Linked DNA regions of Homo sapiens: all the other regions are linked to region 2. The links are contacts of gene promoters, found by promoter capture Hi-C in blood cells and fetal thymus (Javierre and others, 2016). All regions are on one chromosome and are shown on one strand. Each heading gives the region's core, a stretch centred on a gene start or on the middle of the fragment in contact. The rest is flanking DNA. Distances are from core to core; before and after follow the strand shown. Region 1 holds the start of VWA5B2 (von Willebrand factor A domain containing 5B2). Region 2 holds the start of PARL (presenilin associated rhomboid like). Region 3 has its middle 20 kb from the start of SNORA63E. Region 4 overlaps SNHG33 (small nucleolar RNA host gene 33). Region 5 holds the start of EIF4G1 (eukaryotic translation initiation factor 4 gamma 1). Region 6 holds the start of KLHL6-AS1 (KLHL6 antisense RNA 1). Region 7 overlaps EEF1AKMT4-ECE2 (EEF1AKMT4-ECE2 readthrough).

What was found. Contacts are between HindIII fragments. The CHiCAGO score rates a contact against its expected background, and 5 or more counts as called.
Region 1: a contact is called between the fragment with the promoter of VWA5B2 here and the fragment with the promoter of PARL in region 2, in 7 of 17 cell types (M2 macrophages, megakaryocytes, erythroblasts and 4 more). The highest score is 10.2, in M2 macrophages.
Region 3: a fragment that was not itself captured here is called in contact with the fragment with the promoter of PARL in region 2 in 4 of 17 cell types (fetal thymus, erythroblasts, neutrophils and 1 more); the score reaches 7.7 in fetal thymus.
Region 4: a fragment that was not itself captured here is called in contact with the fragment with the promoter of PARL in region 2 in 4 of 17 cell types (fetal thymus, megakaryocytes, total CD8 T cells and 1 more); the score reaches 11.8 in fetal thymus.
Region 5: the fragment with the promoter of EIF4G1 here is called in contact with the fragment with the promoter of PARL in region 2 in 4 of 17 cell types (megakaryocytes, M1 macrophages, M0 macrophages and 1 more); the score reaches 6.7 in megakaryocytes.
Region 6: the fragment with the promoter of KLHL6-AS1 here is called in contact with the fragment with the promoter of PARL in region 2 in 8 of 17 cell types (erythroblasts, M2 macrophages, M1 macrophages and 5 more); the score reaches 11.9 in erythroblasts.
Region 7: a fragment that was not itself captured here is called in contact with the fragment with the promoter of PARL in region 2 in 4 of 17 cell types (endothelial precursors, M2 macrophages, M1 macrophages and 1 more); the score reaches 7.6 in endothelial precursors.

Annotation. Positions count from the first base shown.
Region 1 is chr3:184,228,170-184,231,028 of GRCh38, forward strand. It overlaps VWA5B2 (von Willebrand factor A domain containing 5B2), which reads left to right and starts at 1,416. Exons shown (of 20, transcript NM_001390846.1): 1 at 1,416-1,544; 2 at 2,211-2,498; 3 at 2,578-2,748. The coding sequence starts at 2,360. RefSeq lists a silencer at 1,184-1,523. The HindIII fragment of the contact is 8,832 bases long and covers 414-2,859 here.
Region 2 is chr3:183,883,627-183,886,326 of GRCh38, forward strand. It overlaps PARL (presenilin associated rhomboid like), which reads right to left and starts at 1,254. Exons shown (of 10, transcript NM_018622.7): 1 at 1,096-1,254. The coding sequence starts at 1,220. RefSeq lists silencers at 1,014-1,173, 1,284-1,434 and enhancers at 1,384-1,433, 1,474-1,703. The HindIII fragment of the contact is 9,960 bases long and covers 1-2,700 here.
Region 3 is chr3:183,472,594-183,475,293 of GRCh38, forward strand. No RefSeq gene overlaps it. Among named protein-coding and RNA genes, the nearest start is that of SNORA63E, 20 kb to the left of the region's middle. The HindIII fragment of the contact is 3,065 bases long and covers 1-2,700 here.
Region 4 is chr3:183,448,690-183,451,403 of GRCh38, forward strand. The region is part of intron 1 of SNHG33 (small nucleolar RNA host gene 33); the gene reads left to right. Among named protein-coding and RNA genes, the nearest start is that of SNORA63D, 1.8 kb to the right of the region's middle. The HindIII fragment of the contact is 177 bases long and covers 1,213-1,389 here.
Region 5 is chr3:184,313,250-184,316,124 of GRCh38, forward strand. EIF4G1 (eukaryotic translation initiation factor 4 gamma 1) reads left to right here and starts at 1,357. Exons shown (of 33, transcript NM_198241.3): 1 at 1,357-1,425; 2 at 2,240-2,296; 3 at 2,514-2,607. The coding sequence starts at 2,548. RefSeq lists enhancers at 780-1,280, 2,005-2,626 and silencers at 1,108-1,437, 1,458-2,167. The HindIII fragment of the contact is 4,143 bases long and covers 1-2,468 here.
Region 6 is chr3:183,547,480-183,550,179 of GRCh38, forward strand. It overlaps KLHL6-AS1 (KLHL6 antisense RNA 1), which reads left to right and starts at 1,256. Exons shown (of 2, transcript NR_046687.1): 1 at 1,256-1,484. All of the region lies in intron 1 of KLHL6 (kelch like family member 6), which reads right to left. The HindIII fragment of the contact is 1,687 bases long and covers 929-2,615 here.
Region 7 is chr3:184,265,704-184,268,437 of GRCh38, forward strand. All of the region lies in intron 2 of EEF1AKMT4-ECE2 (EEF1AKMT4-ECE2 readthrough), which reads left to right. Among named protein-coding and RNA genes, the nearest start is that of CAMK2N2, 5.5 kb to the left of the region's middle. The HindIII fragment of the contact is 3,781 bases long and covers 1-2,734 here.

The DNA.
Region 1 (2,859 bases), core at 166-2,665, 340 kb after region 2:
AGAAAGGGGGAGAGAGGTGAATGGAACCATGACCCAGGTAGTATGGAAAGAGGGCTAGGACCCAGCTGGAGCTCCCTGTGTGTTGGGTACGTGTGACTGTGTCTGTGCTCCCTGTATCATTCCTGTGCATTTCCACCCATGAAATTCCCTGGGAAAAGGTCAAGCTCTCTCCACCATGCTAAGTAGGGTGAGCAAAGGAGATGGTTGGGGTTGAGGGCTCAGATACTCAAGGAGGCAGGGATCCCCCGGGGGGATGATCCCTGGTGATAGTGATTGAAATCAGAAGGAGAGAGTTAATGCGGAGGAGTGAGAACCATGGGCCCGACTCGAAAGCTCACTTCCTACTGGCTGTCCTCCATCCCCAGCTCTCCTCAAGCTCTCTCTGCAGAATCTCAGTATGGCATCTGCCAAAAAGCTTACATGGATGATCCCCAAACATGGTCATCTCCTCTCACTTCCCCAGGGCTCTCAGACTCTTCCTTGGGGGACCTGGGAGAGGTTTTCCGGACCTTCCTACTTTTTGACAGCATAACACTGTCAAGCACATGCAAAGTCTGCCAATAACAAGGGGCCCTCCTGACAAGCAGAGATGTTTTCTCTTCAGGGCTGCGGTGATGGGTGGGGGTCACTGCTATGAGGGGACGGTCTGCAGCCATAAGAAGGCTCTTCAGGCTAGAAGGCTTCACTCCCAAGGCCCGCACAGCTGAAGAGACCAAGGGGTTATAGGCTGAGGGCGCTATTGTGCACACCCTCCCACCCCAGCAGAAGTGGTTGGCACTGCAGCGATGCCAAGGCCGGCTGCTTGGGGGTGGGAGGAGGTCGCTGCAGTGATGAGGAATCCCTGCTTGGAGTGAGTGGTCACTGAAGTGGCTGCATGAACTAAAAGTACCTGCAGGGATGGGGGAGGTTTTCTGCAGTGATGAAGAGCACTTTGCAAAGGAAAGGGGCCAGCTTCTTGGGGGAAGAGTCCTGCGGTGACGGTGATGGGGGGCTGGGGGGTTCGCTGCAGTCAGGAGGGAGGGTCTCTGCAGCGATGGGAAGCAACCCAGGGCAGGGGGTGGGGTGGGCTGGGGAATGGGATGCCGTCGTGGTAATGGGATAGCTGGGGTCGCGGCAGTGTCGGTGGCACTTGCAGGACGCCTGATTCCTGAAGAATGGAAAGGGTGGGGTCTCTGAGGCCTCGGTCCTGCAGTGACGGGGATCCGTGCGGCGGCGGGGACGCGGTCCCTGCACTGCGGTGCCCAGTCTGGCTCGGGCTGCCGCGGCTGGCGCGGAGGCGGTACCGCGCCCGAAGGAGGGGGGAGCGCCAGCCCCGCCGCAGCAGCAGCAGGCGTGGCCAGGGCAGGCTGGAGGGGCGGCCTCTCGGAACGGGGGCGGGACCACCGCCGGCAGGGCCCGCGCCCCTGCCGGGACTCAGAGCCGCTGCAGCCACAGTCACGAACTGGCGGCCGGCAGGTGCCGGGACCGAGGGCCACCCGGAGCGCAGAGGCGGCACCACCCACACGGATCCCGTGGGCACCTAGAACTCCGCGGAGGGCGCGACGGTGAGGCTGAGACTGCCACAGGGAGCGGGGCGATCCCCAGAGCCAGCCCGCGGCATCCCCTGCGCGGGCCGCGGCCACTGCAGGTGCCCCCTCCTCCCACATCAGCTCTGCCGGGGTAGGGAGCGGTAACCTGGCGGCTCCCACGGACTCTCCCTGGCCCGACACCTCTCCCGGGCTTGCCTCCCAAAGACCCCCTCTTTTCGCTTTCCCAGCTCGTTCTTCCCACCCTTAACCCCTCCACTCCGGCCAGCACCCCCGTCGGATGAGGCACCAGGGAGAGAAAGACCAAGGCCCTTTCGGCGCCCCATCCACCCTGCCCCCGCGATCCCTCGCAGGGCCGGGGGCCTCCGGGGGGATTCGGGCCCTTTAAACCTCCGCCTTCCCGGAGCATCTTCCATCTCCACCCGCGCCGCTTCCGACAGCTGGCGGCCGCGGGGGGCCCCGGGGGGCCGGCAGGTACGGGGGTGGCTGCGAGGTTGGGAGTGGGCGGTGGAACAGCTGTGACCGCCCCCACCCCCGGGGGAGCCGCGGCGGGACTGCTGGGCGCCGAAGCGCGCGTTAATCATTAACCCTCCGCGGCCCGGCTGCCCAGGTAACGCGTGAGGATGCCCTCCTCGCCACCACGCCTGCCGCCCCCTTATCTCCCCCGCCACCTGTCGCCCTCAGGAGCTCCCGCTCGGCCTCGCGCCCCGGCAGGCCCCGTCCGGGTGCTGGAGTGAGACTCTCGCGCTGGCCTCTGGAGCGCGGGGTGGGCGTCCCGTCACCCTGCGCCCAGCTTCCCCGGCCCGTTCCCGCAGGGCCGGCCTCCCGGCGCCATGCCCGGCCTGTACTGCCCCTCCAGCTGGACGCCGCTGCCGCTCACGGACTCCTGGGTCCGGGCCTGCGCCAACGGCCCCTGCCTCAGCGTGCGGGCCCGGCTCACCTACCGCAACCCGCAGCCGCAGCCGGTGGACGGTGAGGCCCGGGTGGGGCGCGGGCGCGGCGGGGGGTGCGCCGGGCAGGGTCCGACGCCGCCTCCCGCCGCCCTCCCCAGGCGTGTTCGTGTACCCGCTGGCCGAGGCCGAGGTGGTGTCCGGCTTCGAGGCCGAGGCCGCCGGACGGCGCGTCTCCTTCCAGCTGCAGAGCCGGCGCCGCTCGCAGGCCGCCTGCTGCCGCGCTCTGGGCCCGGGGCTGGGGACCCCGACGCCCCGCCGCTGCGCGCAGGGTGAGTTCCGCGCGCCCGCACCCGCGCTCCTGAAAGCCGGGCGCAGCTCAGGCTCCCGCATCCGCTCGGCCTCCGCCCGTCCCCCGCCTTCCTCCGGGCACTGCCTTGTGC
Region 2 (2,700 bases), core at 4-2,503:
CTCCATCTGTCCTCATTTTCCACCTCCCCAGGAGTTTAAGATTAGTGCCTGACAGATCTATGTTAGTGTATGAAGATACAATGTATGTAAAGTTTTCACAAGTCCCTGATAAAATTCACCTGGAATGCTTGTCGGACATATAGGTTCTTCCACTCCACCCACCCCTCTCCTGATTGTGATTTGGGAGGACTGGGGTGAGGCCTGGGACATAAAATCCATACAAACTCTTCAGGTGATCCTTGAGATTAGGCAATGGCTCCGCCACATTAGAGCCTCGATTATTTACCACTGACTATCCCACGTGTTGATAAACAATGTTTCTTATCAGCAATCAGGTGGATTCGAGGCACCCATCTAACCAAGTCAGAAATTGGAAGGAATGAAGTTTTGAACAAAAGAGGAGGAAAATTTTCAAAGCCAAATGCACATCAGATTCTTAAACAGGTGAGGAATTTCTCTCTTCTCTCTCAAATTAGAAATGAATTACTGTGATGCAAAAATCAGCAATACTGATCAACCATACGCTTCACACTTCTACTCGGAAGGTTCGGCAGTTTTCTTTCCAAATCAACCGGAAACGAAATCTTCCACTGTCTCAATTCAACAATAAAGCCTCTCCTACGACTTTGCCAGACACAAAGTGATACCTTCCATCAGACTTCGTCCTCCCTTAGATCACAAGCTAAAGAAGGCGACTGGTTGTAATGGAACACAACCTTTATAATTAGATGGAAAAAGAATAAAAACCGCCATTCTGCCAGCTGTACTAACTTCTTCACTTCAGAAACTGGCTCAACAGTTTCCACTCGCGATTATGAAGTGTGGCACGCAATGAACCCTCAGCTTAGTTCCCCTTCCAGTCACGTCCTTCCCAATGGGAAAGGAGAAAGCGCAGGCTCGCGGGGGGCTGGGCTGGGCAAGGGGAGCGAGAAGCGAGGACTGGACGGAGGCGAGAGAGGAGAGAGAAGGGGCAGGTAAGGTGAAGGGGGTGAGCTGGGGCCAGCACAAGAGGCCCAGACGGCCTCCGCCCCCGAGGATACACGGCCAGAGCTCAGGGACCAAGAGGCGAGAAGACCAGAGCGCGGCGGCTATTACCTGCGTCCGAGGAGCTGCGGCGGGGTTAGGACCGCAGTGAGCTCCTCGCAGCTGCGGCCGCCCACCGACGCACCCCACGCCTGGCCGCAGCCCCAGCCTCTCTGCGCCCAGCCTCGCCACGCCATCTTCCCAACCTCTGCCCCACCATGGCCCGACCTTACCAACCCCAGCTGCGCAACTACTTCCGGGGCGAAGGCAACACCATAGAGCACGAGGAGCAGTCTAGAGCGCCCCCGCGCGGCTGAGCGGCAGCCGAACCAGCCACGGTGCCCGGACGACTGGCTGGCGCCCTTCTGTCCCACCGCTTCCCCTCCCACTGCTCAGCTGGCTCCGGGAGCGACCTGCGAGAGTGGCCCGGCCTCCCGGCATTTGCAGATGAGGAGGATGGGGCCAGAGCGAAGAGGGACAACTGTCATTTTTTCGAGTAACGGCACATACCAGGCGCTTTGCCTAAGATCGCATTTAATCGTCACAGCACTGCTAGAGGTAGATGTCATCACTGTTTCACTTTGCCTCTGGTCAGAGGGGATAGGACTTGCCCGGAGTTGCAGGGCTGGTCCCTAGAGGAACCAACGTGGCAAGCCAAGTTTTCTTAAATTACTACTTTTTTCTGCATCTCACCACTTCGTGTTATTCTGTATGCCTTTAACAAAGTCCAAGCCTATCGGGCGGGGTGGCTCACCCCTTTAATCCCAGCACTTTGGGAGGCCGAGGCCGGCGGATCACCTGAGGTCAGGAGTTCGATACCAGCCCGGCCAACATGGTGAAACCCCGTCTCTACTAAAAATACAAAAATTAGCCGGGCATGGTGGCAGGGGCCTGTAATCCCAGCTACTCAGTTGGCTGAGGCAGGAGTATTGCTTGAACCTGGGAGGCGGAGGTTGCAGTGAGCCGAGATTGGACCACTGCACTCCAGCCTAGGTGACAGAGCGAGATCCGTCTCAAAAAAATTACAAATACAAATACAAAAATTAGCTGGGCGTGGTGGCGCAAACCTGTAATCCCAGCTACTCGAGAGGCTGAGGTGGGAGAATCACTTGAACTCGGGAGGTTGCAGTGAGCCGATATCGTGCCAGCCTGGGCAACAGAGTGAGACCCTTTCTCATAAATAAATAAGTAAATAAACACAAAATCCAAGCCTGAAATGAAAAGCGGGCTTTCACTTTTTCATAATCCATCCCTCAACTACCTGTCAGTTAGCTTGATTCCCTGCCATTCCATTCCCCCCGACCCTAGCTGCAGCCATACAGTCATTGGCCATTACTCAAAGGCACCATCCGCGTTCCCACTGCTGAGCATTCATGCTACCGTTCTCACCACTTGAAACATCTAACCGACTTGTCCTTCAGGTCAGCCTCAAGTGTCACCTCTTCCAGGAGGCCTTTCCCAGACCTCCACTCCAATTTAGATTCCCTTCCTTTGTACTCACATACCGCTTTATGCTTATCTCTGCAATAGCACTTCATTCATTCCATAAGCTCTTATTAAGCACCTACAGTGTGTCAGGTGATATGTTAAACCTGGGGATACAATTGAGAAGACACTATATCTGACCTCACAAAGATTCTATTGTATTGGGGGAGAAGGCTCTGTAGGAGTCTAGAG
Region 3 (2,700 bases), core at 151-2,650, 410 kb before region 2:
ACAGCCTCACACATGTGTGTTTATTATACAACAGGCACTGTTATGAATGCTTAACATATATAGTAGCTCTTTAAGCCTCACAACCTATGAGGGGGTGATGAGCTCCCCATTTTGCAGAAGAAGAAACTGAGGCACAGAGATACCAGGTTAACACCTAATGTCTATAAATTCCAGACAGACCCCATGGCAGCTCAGAACAGCTAGCTGGTCAGCCCAGGTCCCGTCCCTCCTCACCTGCCCTTCCTCCCCCATGCAGCACGGATCATCCCAAGTTCCCATCAGAAGGAAAGGGCAGGGGAACAGGTGGGTGGGGTCAAGAGAAGCAATCCAAGAAAGAAGAGCATTTGCTTCACTGTCTGAGGTTTGGAATCATTTGTGTTTTGCTACCTCCTGCGTTTTGCTAGCCCTTGTTCTCATTTTTTTTTAATGGAGTTTCGCTCTTGTTGCCCAGGCTGGAGTGCAGTGGCGCGATCTCGGCTGACTGCAACTTTCACCCCCTGGGTTCAAGCAATTCTCCTGCCTCAGCCTCCCAAGTAGCTTGGATTACAGGCACCACCATCATGCCTGGCTAATTTTTGTATTTTTAGTAGAGAAGGGGTTTCACCATGTTGGCCAGGCTGGTCTTGAACTCCTGACTTCAGGTGATCCACCCGCCTCGGCCTCCCAAATCCAACGCCTGGGATTACAGGCGTGAGCCACCATGCCCAGCCTTCAATTCTGCTCTTGTAGCACAAAAGCAGTCATAGACAGTAAGAAAACAAATGGGCGTGGGTGTGTTCCAATACAATTTATAGACACTGAGATTTCAATTTTATATAATTTCATGCATCAATGAAAAAGTATTTGTCTTCTGATTTTTTCAACCATTTAAAAATGTAGGCAGGGCGTGGTAGCTCACACCTGTAACCCCAGCACTTTAGGAGGCTGAGGCAGGCAGAACCCTGAGGTCAGGAGTTTGAGTCCAGACTGGCCAACATGGCGAAATCCCATTTCTACTAAAAATACAAAAATTTGCCGGGCTTGGTGTCGGGCACCTGTAATCCCAGCTACTAGGGAGGCTGAGGCAGGAGAATCGCTTTAACCTAGGAGGTGGAGGTTGCAGTGAGCCGAGATTACTCCACTGCACTCCAGCCTGGGTAACAGAGTGAGACTCCGTCTCAAACAAACAAACAAACAAACAAAAAACCAGTAAATACCATTCTTAGCTGTGGACCACACAAAACAGACATTTGGTCCACAGGCTGTATTTTCTGACCCCTGAAGTAGCAAATAGAAAGAGGGAAGGACGATTGAGAGTGCTGCAGAGGGCAATCTTTTCTTATTTGTAGAAATGATGTGTTAAAAAAGAAAGGAAGAATGAAATGAAAAAGAAAAAAAGACAGAAGAAACCAGACAAACTTAGGGAAATAAATCATGAAAAACTAGGCCATGTACAACTCTGTAGACCTTTTGAGAACCTTTGCTTTAAGTGAAATGGTTGTGATTAGAGGGTTTTGAGCAGAGAAATGCTGTGATCTGATTTATGTTTTTAAAGGATCATGAGGTCCAACTTTAACCTGGTTTTGGAAGAGGAAGTAGTTGGAATTGAGTGTATGAATTCACAAATAAAACACCAAGGGGAAATTCTCTCCTAATACTTAATTATTCTCCCAGTTGTGTGTGCTCAATTAGTTCATGGCTTAGCTAAATCACAGGATATAACTAAATCAAAGCGGAATACTTTCAACCAGAGTAAAGTTTTTTCCCTCCGTGTGTCCAAAGACTTTTCTCTATTGAATCCGATGCATGATAAAAAGACATTTGGATTCCATTTAGATCCTTATTGGCCAGAAACAAGCTCCAAAGTTTGGATATTCGTGCTGGACAAATTATTTTTCTTTTTGAAACCAGTTTGTATAATTCAGCAATGGAGCTGGGTGCGGTGGCTGACCCCTGTAATCTCAGCACTTCGGGAGCCCAAGGCAGGTGGATCACCTGAGGTCAGGAGTTCAAGACCAGCCTGGCCAACATGGTGAAACCCCTTCTCTACTAAAAATACAAAAATTAGCCGGGCATAGTGGCAGGCACCTGTAATCCCAGCTACTTGGGAGGCTGAGGCTGGAGAATCGCTTGAACCCGGGATGTGGAGGTTGCAGTGAGCAGAGATCATGCCATTGCACTCCAGCCTGGGTGACAAGAGCAAAAGTCAGTCTCAAAAGAATAAATAAATAAAATAAAAAATAATTCAGCAATGGAAGTATTATAGCAAGTCCTATATAGGCTAGGACTATGGCTTATATTTCTGTGTTAGTGCCCCCTTCCCTTGGCAGAATGTTGGCTACAGAGATAAGGCTGACTAAATAATCCTAGTGGCTCAATGCAATTGCCTTGTGCATCTTACCATCTTCAAGGTACCCACATCAAGGGACAGTAAGTAAATGAGGATTAAGTGATAGGTAAGGCACCAAGCATCATGCCTGGTGCCCAGTAGATGAAAAAATGGGCCCTGGTGCTGAGTTATATGGCAACCTGCTCAGGCTGGAAAGGAGAAGACAAACCCTTCTACCTCTGGCTATTTTCATCATGGGTTCCCCCAGCTCCTGCTTTTCCTTTCTGGACCATGCTCCGTGTTGATTCATTCACCCAGATGTTTCCTGCTTCCTTGCATAAGAAGTATATGATGGTCACATTAGCTCTCACTACCAGAGATGGAAACTCTGG
Region 4 (2,714 bases), core at 51-2,550, 430 kb before region 2:
TTTACAGTTATGTTTGTCTTTAGTTTCTGTAATTAAAACTGTATTATACAGGTTATGAAGGCAGTCATAGAGGTTTTATGACTATAGAGGTTACAAAGTCTCTATAATTAAGATGTGGAACTAGTGTGTGAATAATATAAAAAGACAAGTAGAATAGAATAGAAAATCCAGAAATAACCCCAAGTGCAGGTAGAAAGTTAAAGATAAAGGTGCTATCACATATCATTGGAGCAGAGTTGGGCTTTGTAATACACAGAGCTGGGCCAACTGGTTGGCCATTTGGAAAAAGATAAAATTAGATCTACACCTTATAGCGTAACAAAAATGAAGTCTAAATGGATCAGGGATCTAAATGTGAAAAATGAAACAATACAAGTACTAAAAAGAAAAAGGCTTTCTAACTATGACTCAAAAAACCATAAGCAATAAAATAAAAAGTTGATAAATTTGACCACATAAAACAAATAGCATGGCAAATACATCATAAAGTCAAAAGACAACTGAAAAAAAAAACTGGATTGGGAGAAAATATCTGTAGCACGTATCACGGGTAAAGGATGAAGATCTTTCATATTTAAATTTGAATTTTAAAACTTTTCCAAATCAATTTTCTCTGTTTACATTCAGCAGTGGCAAAGTGACTTTATCTTTTACATAAGAATATGTCAAAAAAGTAGCAAGTTATACTGCTTTTAAAGATAAGAGTCATCCGTTTAAAAATACTTATTATATCATGTGTCTTAGGGCCCCAAAGGAAACCCTAACACAGGAATTCCTGTGCAAATAATTAGAAAGTTTCCAGGAAAAAATCACAGGGTAATAGAGAAATAGAATAGAAAGGGAAGGAAGGCCAGTGAGCAAGCTGCTCTAAGCCTGTTCCCCTGGAGGTGGCTCAGTGCTGCTTAACTCTAAGTCAGTGTGCATGGTCAATCCCTGGAGTCGTCCTTACCAGAGAACCAGCAGGCTGGTGTGTTTATGTCTCTACCGAGTCATTAGTTAAGGTCTGCCCTCAGGGAGACCTAACTTCCCAGATACTTCGGGTTTTATAAAAATATAAAACATCATACTTAAGACTTAGTATAAAGTTGTCCATTCAGAACCTTCTTTTTAACTATTGTCCCTGTATGCAGGGAGTTTTTGTTTCAAATTAAACAAAAACTAGGGTTGCAGATATGGTTTATAGGACTGTATCTCAACAGACTGACAAACTGAAGCTTTCTTTCTGGGTAGACTGGGATCCATGCCTTTTCTGTTCACTGTTGTCAAGTTTAAATGCAGTGTGCAACATGAAAACCGCAGTGATGTGTTATTAGTTGGGAATCTTTGTCATTTGGGATATCTGCATGCTATCTGTTTTCAGAGCTCACTGCTGTATTAGCTATGAAGTAAAGCTTGTTTTAACAAAGCAATAGGCTTCATTAAGATCAAGGCTGTGTATAAGTCATGGTTTCCTACTGGAAAGATAATTATCTTTAAGGTAAATGATAACCAGTGAATACATATCGGAACAACTTCCCTGGAGATGTCAATGCAGAGCTTATTCCCTGTTTATACATCTTAAACACAGAATAATAATGTAGGAAATGTCTATTTTGATTTTTCCTAGGCCTTTTTTTAGCCAGTGATATTTAGGATATGGGAGGGAAAATAGCCTAATGAAGCAAGTTGCTACACATGAATATCTAGAGGTGATACTAAGACTTTCGAAAAATAGACTTTATTTTATTTTTAAAATGGTTTTAGGTTTCCAGAAAAAAGTTACAGGTTTACAGAGAAGATAGTACAAAGAGTTCCCATATACCTTGCACCCTATTATTCCTGTTATTAACATTTTATGTTAGTATGGTAAATTTGTGGTGTAATTATATTATGGTTATTATGATACCATTTTTTTCTTTTTCTTTTTTCTTTTCTTTTTTTTTTTGAGACGGAGTCTTACTCTGTCACCCAGGCTGGAGTGCAGTGGCATGATCTCAGCTCACTGCAACCTCCACCTCCCGGGTTCAAGTGATCCTCCTGCCTCAGCCTCCCGAGCACCTGGGACTACAGGCGCACACCATCACACCCAGCTAATTTTTGTATTTTTAGTAGACAGTGTTTCACCATATTGGCCAGGCTGGTCTCGAACTCCTGACCTCATGATCCACCTGCCTTGGCCTCCCAAAGTGTTGGGATTACAGGTGTAAGCCACCTCGCCCGACCAGTGTGATACAATTAATGAACCAACATTGATGTGTTATTATGAACTAAGGTCCACAATTTATTCAGGTTTTCTTAGTTTTTATGTAAAGTGCTTTTTCTGTTCCAGAATCTTATCCAGGATACCACATTCCATTTTGCTGTCATGTTTCTTTAGACCCCTCTAGGCTGTGACAGTTTCTCAGATTTTTCGTATTTTTGGTGACCTTGACAGTTTGGAGGAGTATTACTCAGGTATTTTGTAGGATATCTTTCTGTTAGAATTGACTGATGTTTTCCTCTGGATTAGACTTGAATTTGGGGCTTTGGGGAGGAAGACCACAGATATAAAGTGTGATTCTCTTTTTTTTTTTTTTTTTTTTTTTGCGACAGAGTTTTGCTCTTGTTGCCTAGGCTGGAGTGCAATGGTGCAATCTTGGCTCATTGCAACCTCTGCCTCGCGAGTTCAAGCAATTCTCCTGCCTCAGCCTCCCGAGTAGCTGGGATTACAGGCATGCACCACCATGCCTGGCTAA
Region 5 (2,875 bases), core at 107-2,606, 430 kb after region 2:
ACCGCGCCCGGCCCATGATCCTTTTAAACGACAAATCTCATACTACTTGCCTAGTTAGAATGTTTCTAACTTTTTAAACGACAAATCTCATACTACTTGCCTAGTTAGAATGTTTCTATCCTTTTAATTTCCTTTGTTATAGGCCTTTCAAGGACCTAATCTAAATTCTTTTCAAAGCCTGCATAATTCGTGTTGTATCACGATTTACTTAGGCAGGACTGAGTCTTTAATTTCTTTTTTTCTTTCTTTTTTTTTTTTTTTGAGATGGAGTCTCACCCTGTCGCCAGGCTAGAGTGCAGTGGCGTAATTTCGGCTCACTGCAACCTCCGCCTCCCGGGTTCAAGCAATTCTCTGCCTCTGCCTACCGAGTAGCTAGGACTACAGGCGTGCGCCACCAGGCCCAGCTAATTTTTTGTATTTTAGTAGAGACGGGGTTTCACCATGTTGGCCAGGATGGTCTAGATCTCCTGACCCCGTGATCCGCCCGCCTCGGCCTCCCAAAGTGCTGGGATTACAGGCGTGAGCCACTGCGCCCGGCCCATGATCTTTTTAAACTACAAATCTCATACTACTTGCCTAATTAGAATGTTTCTATCCTTTTAATTTCCTTTGTTATTGGCCTTTCAATGACCTAATCTAAATTATTTTCAAAGCCTGCATAATTCGTATTGTATCACGATTTACTTAGGCAGGACGGAGTCTTTAATTTCTTTCTTTTTTTTTTTTGAGATGGAGTCTCGCCCTGTCGCCAGGCTAGGCTAGAGTGCAGTGGCACAATCTCCGCTCACTGCAACCTCTGCCTCCCGGGCTCAAACAATTCTCCTGCCTCAGCCTCCCAAGTAGCTGGGACTACGGGTGCGCCACCACGCCCGGCTAATTTTTGTATTTTTAGTAAAGACGGGGTTTCACCATGTTGGCCAGGATGGTCTCGATCTCTTGACCTCGTGATCCGCCCACCTCGGCCTCCCAAAGTACTGGGATTAAGGTGTGAGCCACCGCGCCCCGCTTATTTTTTTTTTTTTTTTGCCGAGACTTTGATTTCAGTTTCTCAGCCCTCAACCAGCACTTCGCCTTGTACTTAGCATGCACTCAATAAATGGTTGCTTAAAATATGAATGAACTAAAGAATCGCGGAACAGAGAGAAACACAGAGGGGAATCGGTCTGGGAGTTTCAAAGTTCGGGAGGGGACACGGGGGCGGGCTGTGGCTGTCACGTGACGGGGCGGGGGCAAATCCCATGTGCTCGGCGGCGCAGATCGCCCGGCGCGGCTCCGCCCCCTGCGCCGGTCACGTGGGGGCGCCGGCTGCGCCTGCGGAGAAGCGGTGGCCGCCGAGCGGGATCTGTGCGGGGAGCCGGAAATGGTTGTGGACTACGTCTGTGCGGCTGCGTGGGGCTCGGCCGCGCGGACTGAAGGAGACTGAAGGTAAAGCCGCCATGTCCGGGCCCGACCCGGCCCCCCCACCCCCTCCCCCCGCATCCGCCGCCATCCGGGCCGGGACCGGCCACCCTGCGCCGCCGCCCCGGCGCCCTGGCCCCGCGGCCCGACCCAGGGCCCCGGCCCGCCAGGGTCCCGATCCCCGGCCCACGTGTGCCTGGCCCGGCCGGGCCTGGCTGCTGGGTGGGGGTGGGGAGCGCAGGGCCGGACTATGCGGGCCCCGCGGGCTGGTAGGGCGCCGGGTTCGTCGCCGCGAAATGCCACCTCGGCCTGACCCGAGGAGGCCCGGCAGCCCACGGGCGCAGGCACCACGGCTCCCGGCCCGCCGCCCCCTCCCCCCTTCGCGGCCAGGCCGCCGGGAAGTGACACGTTGTTCTTTGGCACTGGCCCGCGCTGCGCAGGGAGGGCGCAGGGGAGGGAGGCGGTGGCGGCGGGCAGGGAGGAGCCCCCGGCCCCGCCCGCCCTCCGGGCCGACCCTCACTTGCCTGAAACCGGCTCCTCGACGGCCGCCGCCCGCCTGGCCTTTTAGGGCCTGACTCCCGCCCTTCCTGGCCTACACTCCTGGGCGGCGGCAGGCCTAGCTTCTGGCCCAGTGCGGGTTCCCCGGCGGCAGGCGTATCCTGTGTGCCCCTGGGCCAGGCCCGAACCCGGTGTCCCCGGGTGGGGGGTGGGGACGCCACGGCCGAAGCAGCTAGCTCCGTTCGTGATCCGGGAGCCTGGTGCCAGCGAGACCTGGAATTTCCGGTCTGGTTGGTCTGGGGCCCCGCGGAGCCAGGTTGATACCCTCACCTCCCAACCCCAGGCCCTCGGATGCCCAGAACCTGTAGGCCGCACCGTGGACTTGTTCTTAATCGAGGGGGTGAGTGAGGGGTCTGTTTCAGTAGGTCAGGGGTTGGTTGGAAGTGATGCGGGTTTGACAGCATGTTGGTGGGGACAGGCTGTATCTTTTCTGCTTCACCCTCTTGGCATCTCTGGGACTCCGTATGGGACCCAGCCCTTGCATCAACCCTTTCACCGCCCCATTTGCCTTAAGCTTGGGTCCCTTCCTCTTCCTGAGCGCCACTCTTTCCCAACAGGTGCTGGGGGGACCCTGATGTGGCACCAAATGAAATGAACAAAGCTCCACAGTCCACAGGCCCCCCACCCGCCCCATCCCCCGGACTCCCACAGGTAATTAGGGAGGAATTAGCAGGGGTGGGGGTGGGGGAGACCAGGCAGTCTCCAGCCTCTGGATCTTCCTACCCCCATCTGTGTCAGGGCAAAGTGCAGCCGCCTGCTGCCAAATTGAGACAGGGCCCCTGGGCTGTCCCCGGGGGCTGTCACGGGGAGGGGGTATGTGGATTGTTAAGGCTCTTGCCGCAGATCTGCTCCCCTTATTTCACCAGCTTGGGTTTCTGCCCCACCTGGGCTTCCCCTCTTGCTGAACTCTGGTCTCCCC
Region 6 (2,700 bases), core at 6-2,505, 340 kb before region 2:
TTGCATCTTGCTTTGCCCCCTGTTTTCATTATAATATTTTTCCTACGGTGCTCCATGCTTTTCATAATGACTATTTATTATATTGCTACCAATTTCAACAGAGGCATAATATGAAAATCATTCTCTCACTGTGGACATTTAGGTTGCTTCCAGTATTTTGTTTTTATACGTGACGTGGTAATCTTTGCATTAAGCATTTTTTCCCAGTTTGGAATATGGACGGCCTACATTTTTTCAGGCACTTTGCTGGATTCTTTTTATTTCATTCAGTCTTCATAATATCAAGTAGATAGCATGGTGTCCATTTCATCCTTGGGGGAGCTCACTTTGATGGGAAGAGTGGTTTCCCCATGATGTCTAAACTGAAAACAGGCCTCTTCACAGAGAACAGAAATGTGGCTAACAGGTCATTTCCTATGACCCCTCAGCTCCCCAAGACTCTTTTGCTAGTGTAGGCTACATAAGCTGAAAATGAGGAGGAAATGTAAAAATCAGAGCCTCCTTGTGCTCATACACACATGCACAGGCAGGATACTGTTGGAACATTCATTCCAGTTTATGTCTGGGGGCTGAGCTGACAGACCCCCATAGCAGCAAGGACCCAGCATGCCTTAGGACATCAGTCTGGATCAAAGGGTTAAAAAAGAGACAAGGAAGCAGGGTCAGGGTGTGCAAGGTGAAAAGACAGTGCGCTCTGAAAATATATGGGACCTCACTGTGGCTAGAACCAGAAACTGGTTCTCACCATTTGGGAAGCCCAGCTCACTGCAAAATATGGCACACTCTGTAAGTGACAGTGACCTGTGAGGGCAGCCCTGCTGTGATTCCCAGGGTTGGCAGAGGGAGGGGAGTCCTAGTGATGAGGGGAGGGGTTATCAGGCTTTTCTCTGCCCTGTCTCATGACTGGCCCTTCCTTCATGCATAGAAAAGCTTCCAGGCTGAGGCTGAGTCATTAGCAATCTCCTTTGTTGATGCTGCTGCCTGGAATCCTTGTCTGGATTCCTGTCTCACTCCTGTCTTGTACCGCAGTCTCTAGGTCTGGTTCCTTGAGGCTATGTTGAGAGGACTTTACCCGCCAGCTACAAAAATCAGGCATAAGGCCAGGAATGGGAAGGTTATTGTGAGCACAATCTATGCACTTGTTAATCATTATTACATATTAACCAATTACTGCATGGCAGAAAAGTGGGGCAAGAGACTACTCTTAAGCCACATGTAGATGTTGTAATCCTGAGCTTTGTCTCCATAATGGGGTAAGATGTCAGAAAAGAGTCAGAAAGCCCAGGTGATAGAATAAGTGCCAAGAACATATACACCATGGAATACTGTGCAGCCATAAAAAGGAATGAGTTCATGTCCTTTGCAGGGACATGGATGAAGCTGGAAACCATCATTCTCAGCAAACTAACACAGCAACAGAAAACCAAACACCGCATGTTCTCACTCATAAGTGGGAGTTGAACAATGAGAACACATGGACACAGGTAGGGGAACAACACAACCCGTGGCCTGTCGGCGGGTGGGGGACAAGGGGAGGGAGAGCATTAGGAAAAATACTTAATGCATTCAGGGCCTAAAACCTAGATGATGGGTTGATAGGTGCAGCAAACCACCATGGCACGTGTATACCTATGTAACAAACCCGCGCATTCTGCACATGTATCCCAGAACTTAAAGTAAAATTTAAACAAATTTTAAAAAAGAGAATAAGTGCCAAGAAAAACAAGAATGAGTTAAGGCCATGTAGGTCTGTATTAAAAATCTGGCTAACAGCAAATGTGTTGAGGATTGCTGCTGCCACAGTGGGTACACTTGAGAACTCAAGTGAAGCCAATGATTGTAACACCAGGGTCAGGCCCTATATTTTCCACTTTTAATATTTTCCAATATTGTGGATCAGAACCAATATGATAGTAAATATTTCAGCATTATATATCTATAATCCCTTATCTGTAGTTTCAAAATTCCCAAAGTGCTGATAAATGTAAAGTTTTTTGTAACTTATTTCATGGCTAAATCCAACTTGAATGGCACTCGTCAGGTCGGGACACCTGAGTCTTGCTCTGTTGCCCCGGCTGGAGTGCAGTGGCATGATCTTGGCTCACTGCAACCTCCGCCTCCCAGATTCAAGCAATTCTCCTGCTTCAGCCTCCCGAGTAGCTGGGACTACAGGCATGTGCCACCACGCCCAGCTAATTTTTTGTATTTTTAGTAGAGATGGGGTTTCACCATGTTAGTGCTTGACTCTTAAATAGGAACAGATATCCAAAGACTACCAGATATTTAAGTATAGCCTCTAAAATAAAAGACAGAGGCCAGGTGTGGTGGCTCATGCTTGTAATCCTAGCACTTTGGGAGGCCGGGTCAGGAGGATCCCTTGAGCCCAGGAGTTTGAAACTATCTGGGCAACATAGGGAGACCTTGTCTCTAGGAAATAAATAAATACATACATAAAATAGAATAAAAGAGACAAAAACAAAGAGAAAAATACAGTGAAAACAAACAGTAAAAAACAAACAAAAACAGAAGAGTGGTTTTTTAAAAAATATAAACCTCAAAGAGATTAAGTGAAAATATGACCTATACAAAACAAGAACAGGATGTTATAAAAAGGAAGCTTCATACATAAAACAAGAAAAAAGTCTTGGAAGTTAAAAACTGAGATTCTCAACAGGTTGGAAGATAAAATTGAGAAAAATC
Region 7 (2,734 bases), core at 164-2,663, 380 kb after region 2:
GGGTGGCAGAGCAAGACCCTGTCTAAAAAAAAAAAAAGTGTGACCTTATTTGGAAATAGGGCTTTTGCAGATACAATTAGTTAAGATAAGGTACAGTCAGGCTAGGTGGCTAATGCCTGTAATCCCAGCACTTTGGGAGGCCCAGGCGGGTGGATCACCTGAGGTCAGGAGTTCAAGACCAGCCTGGCCAAGATGGAGAAACCCCATCTCTACTAAAAATAGCCCAGATTGTGCCACTGCACTCCAGCCTCTGTGACAGAGTGAGATCCTGTCTCAAAAAATAAAATAAAATAAAATAAAAAAATATAGGCCGGGTGTGGTGGCTCATGCCTGTAATCCTAGCACTTTGGGAGGCCAAGGCAGGAAGATCCCATGAGCCCAGGAGTTGAAGACCAGCCTGGGCAACATAGGGAGACCCTGTCTTATATAGAAAGAAAAAAATAAAAAATAAATTAAGATGGGGTTATACTGGATTATGGTGGGCCCTAAATCCCATCACCAATGTGTTTATAAGAAGAGAACAGACACACAGGGAAAAAGGCCACATGAAAGACGCAGAGATAGGAGTGAGGGAACTACAAGGTAAGGAAAACCAAGAATTGTTGGGAGCCACCAGCAGCTGAAAGAGGCAAGGAAGAATTCTTTACTAGAGTCTTCCAAAGGAGCTTAACCCTACCAACACCTTGATTTTGGACTTCTGGCCTCCAAAACTGTGAGAGAATAAGTTTCTGTTGTTTTAAGCCCTCAGTTTGTGGTACCTTGTTACAGCGGCCCTAAGAAACAAATACAAGCTGTTAGAAATATTTTGGGGTAAGCTGGGTGTGGTGGCTCACACTTGTAATCCCAGCACTCTGGGAGGCTGAGGCGGGTGGATCACCTGAGGTCAGGAGTTCAAGACCAGCCTGGCCAACATGGCAAAACCCCATCTCTACTAAAAGTACAAAAATTAGCTGGGCATGGTGGTGGGCGCCTGTAATCCTAGCTACTGGGGAGGCTGAGGCAGGAGGATTGCTTGAACCCGGGAGGCAGAGGTAGCAGTGAGCCAAGATTGGCCACTGCACTCCAGCCTGGGTGGCAAAACAAGACTCCATCTCAAAAAATATAGGCCGGGTGTGGTGGCTTACACCTGTAATCCCAGCACTTTGGGAGGCCGAGGCGGGCGGATCATGAGGTCAGGAGATTGAGACCATCCTGGCTAACACGGTGAAATCCCGTCTCCACTAAAAATACAAAAAATTAGCCGGGCGTGGTGGCGGGCGCCTGTAGTCCCAGCTACTTGGGAGGCTGAGGCAGGAGAATGGTGTGAACTTGGGAGGCAGAGCTTGCAGTGAGCTGAGATTGCGCCACTGCACTCCAGCCTGGGTGACAGAGTGAGATTCCATCTCAAAAAAAAAAAAAAAAATACATATGTATATATTTTTTGGGGGGGTAGTATTTTTACTATCATATCTCATGATCATGTTTCTCCTTCCTTAGACTTTCTCTGGGCCTTTTGATCCTACCCTATCCACCTGATGGAAGCCCACACCATGAGGGTATTTCTAGGGCCCATTCTATTTAAAAGAAACTGATAAATTACTGTATCAGTCTGTTTTCACACTGCTGATAAATACATACCTGAGACTGGATAATCTATACAGGAAAAAGAGTTTAATGGACTTACAGTTCCACATGACTGGGGAGGCCTCACAATCATGGCAGAGGGCAAGGAGGAGCAAGTCATGTCTTACACGGATGGCAGCAGGCAAAGTGAGAGAGCTTGTGCAGGGAAATTTTCTCTTATAGAACCATCAGATCTCATGAGACCCACCCACTATCACAAGAACAGCACAGGAAAGACCTGCCCCCATGATTCAATCACCTCCCACCAGGTCCCTCCCACAACACATGGGAAGTCAAGATGAGATTTGGGTGGGGACACAGCCAAACTATATCAATTACAAAAAAAAGAATGAGAAAGATCTATGTGAACAGACATGGTAAAATCCTCAAGACCTGCCAAAATGTCATCAAATAACAAGTTTAGAGTAGAATTTTACATATGTGGGAAAAGTACACATACACACATATGTATACACACTTACATTCACATATATACATACAGTATATGTAGGAACATAAATGCACATAAAAGAAAGATCTGGGCAGGCTCAGTAGCTCACACCTTTAATCCCAGCACTTTGGGAGGCTGAGGCAGGTAGATTGCTTGGGCTCAGGAGTTTGAGACCAGCCTGGGCAACATGGCAAAACCCCATCTTTATTAAAAATACAAAAATTAGCCAAGCATGGTGGTGAGCACATATATTTTCAGATGCTCAGGAGGCAGGAGGATTGCTTAAGCCCAGGAGGTAGACGTTGCAGTGAGCTGAGATTGTGCCACTGCACTCTAGCCTGGGTGACAGAGTGAGAACATGTCTCAAAAAAAAAAAGAAAGAAAGAAAGAAAGAAAGATTTGGAAAGATACATACCAAAACGCAAATGATAGTTATCTCTGAGGATGGTACCAGGATCCCAACAGAATGAATTTCATCTTTTATTCAATATAATTCTGGAGTATATTACATTTGCAATAAAAACGTTTAAATATATTTTACATTTTATTATTTAATTTTCTTTATTATTATTATTATTTTTGAGACAACGTCTCAGTTCCATCACCCAAGTTGGAGTGCAGTAGCATGATCTTGGTTCACCACAGCCTCAACTTCCATGGCTTAGGTGATCCTCTACCACA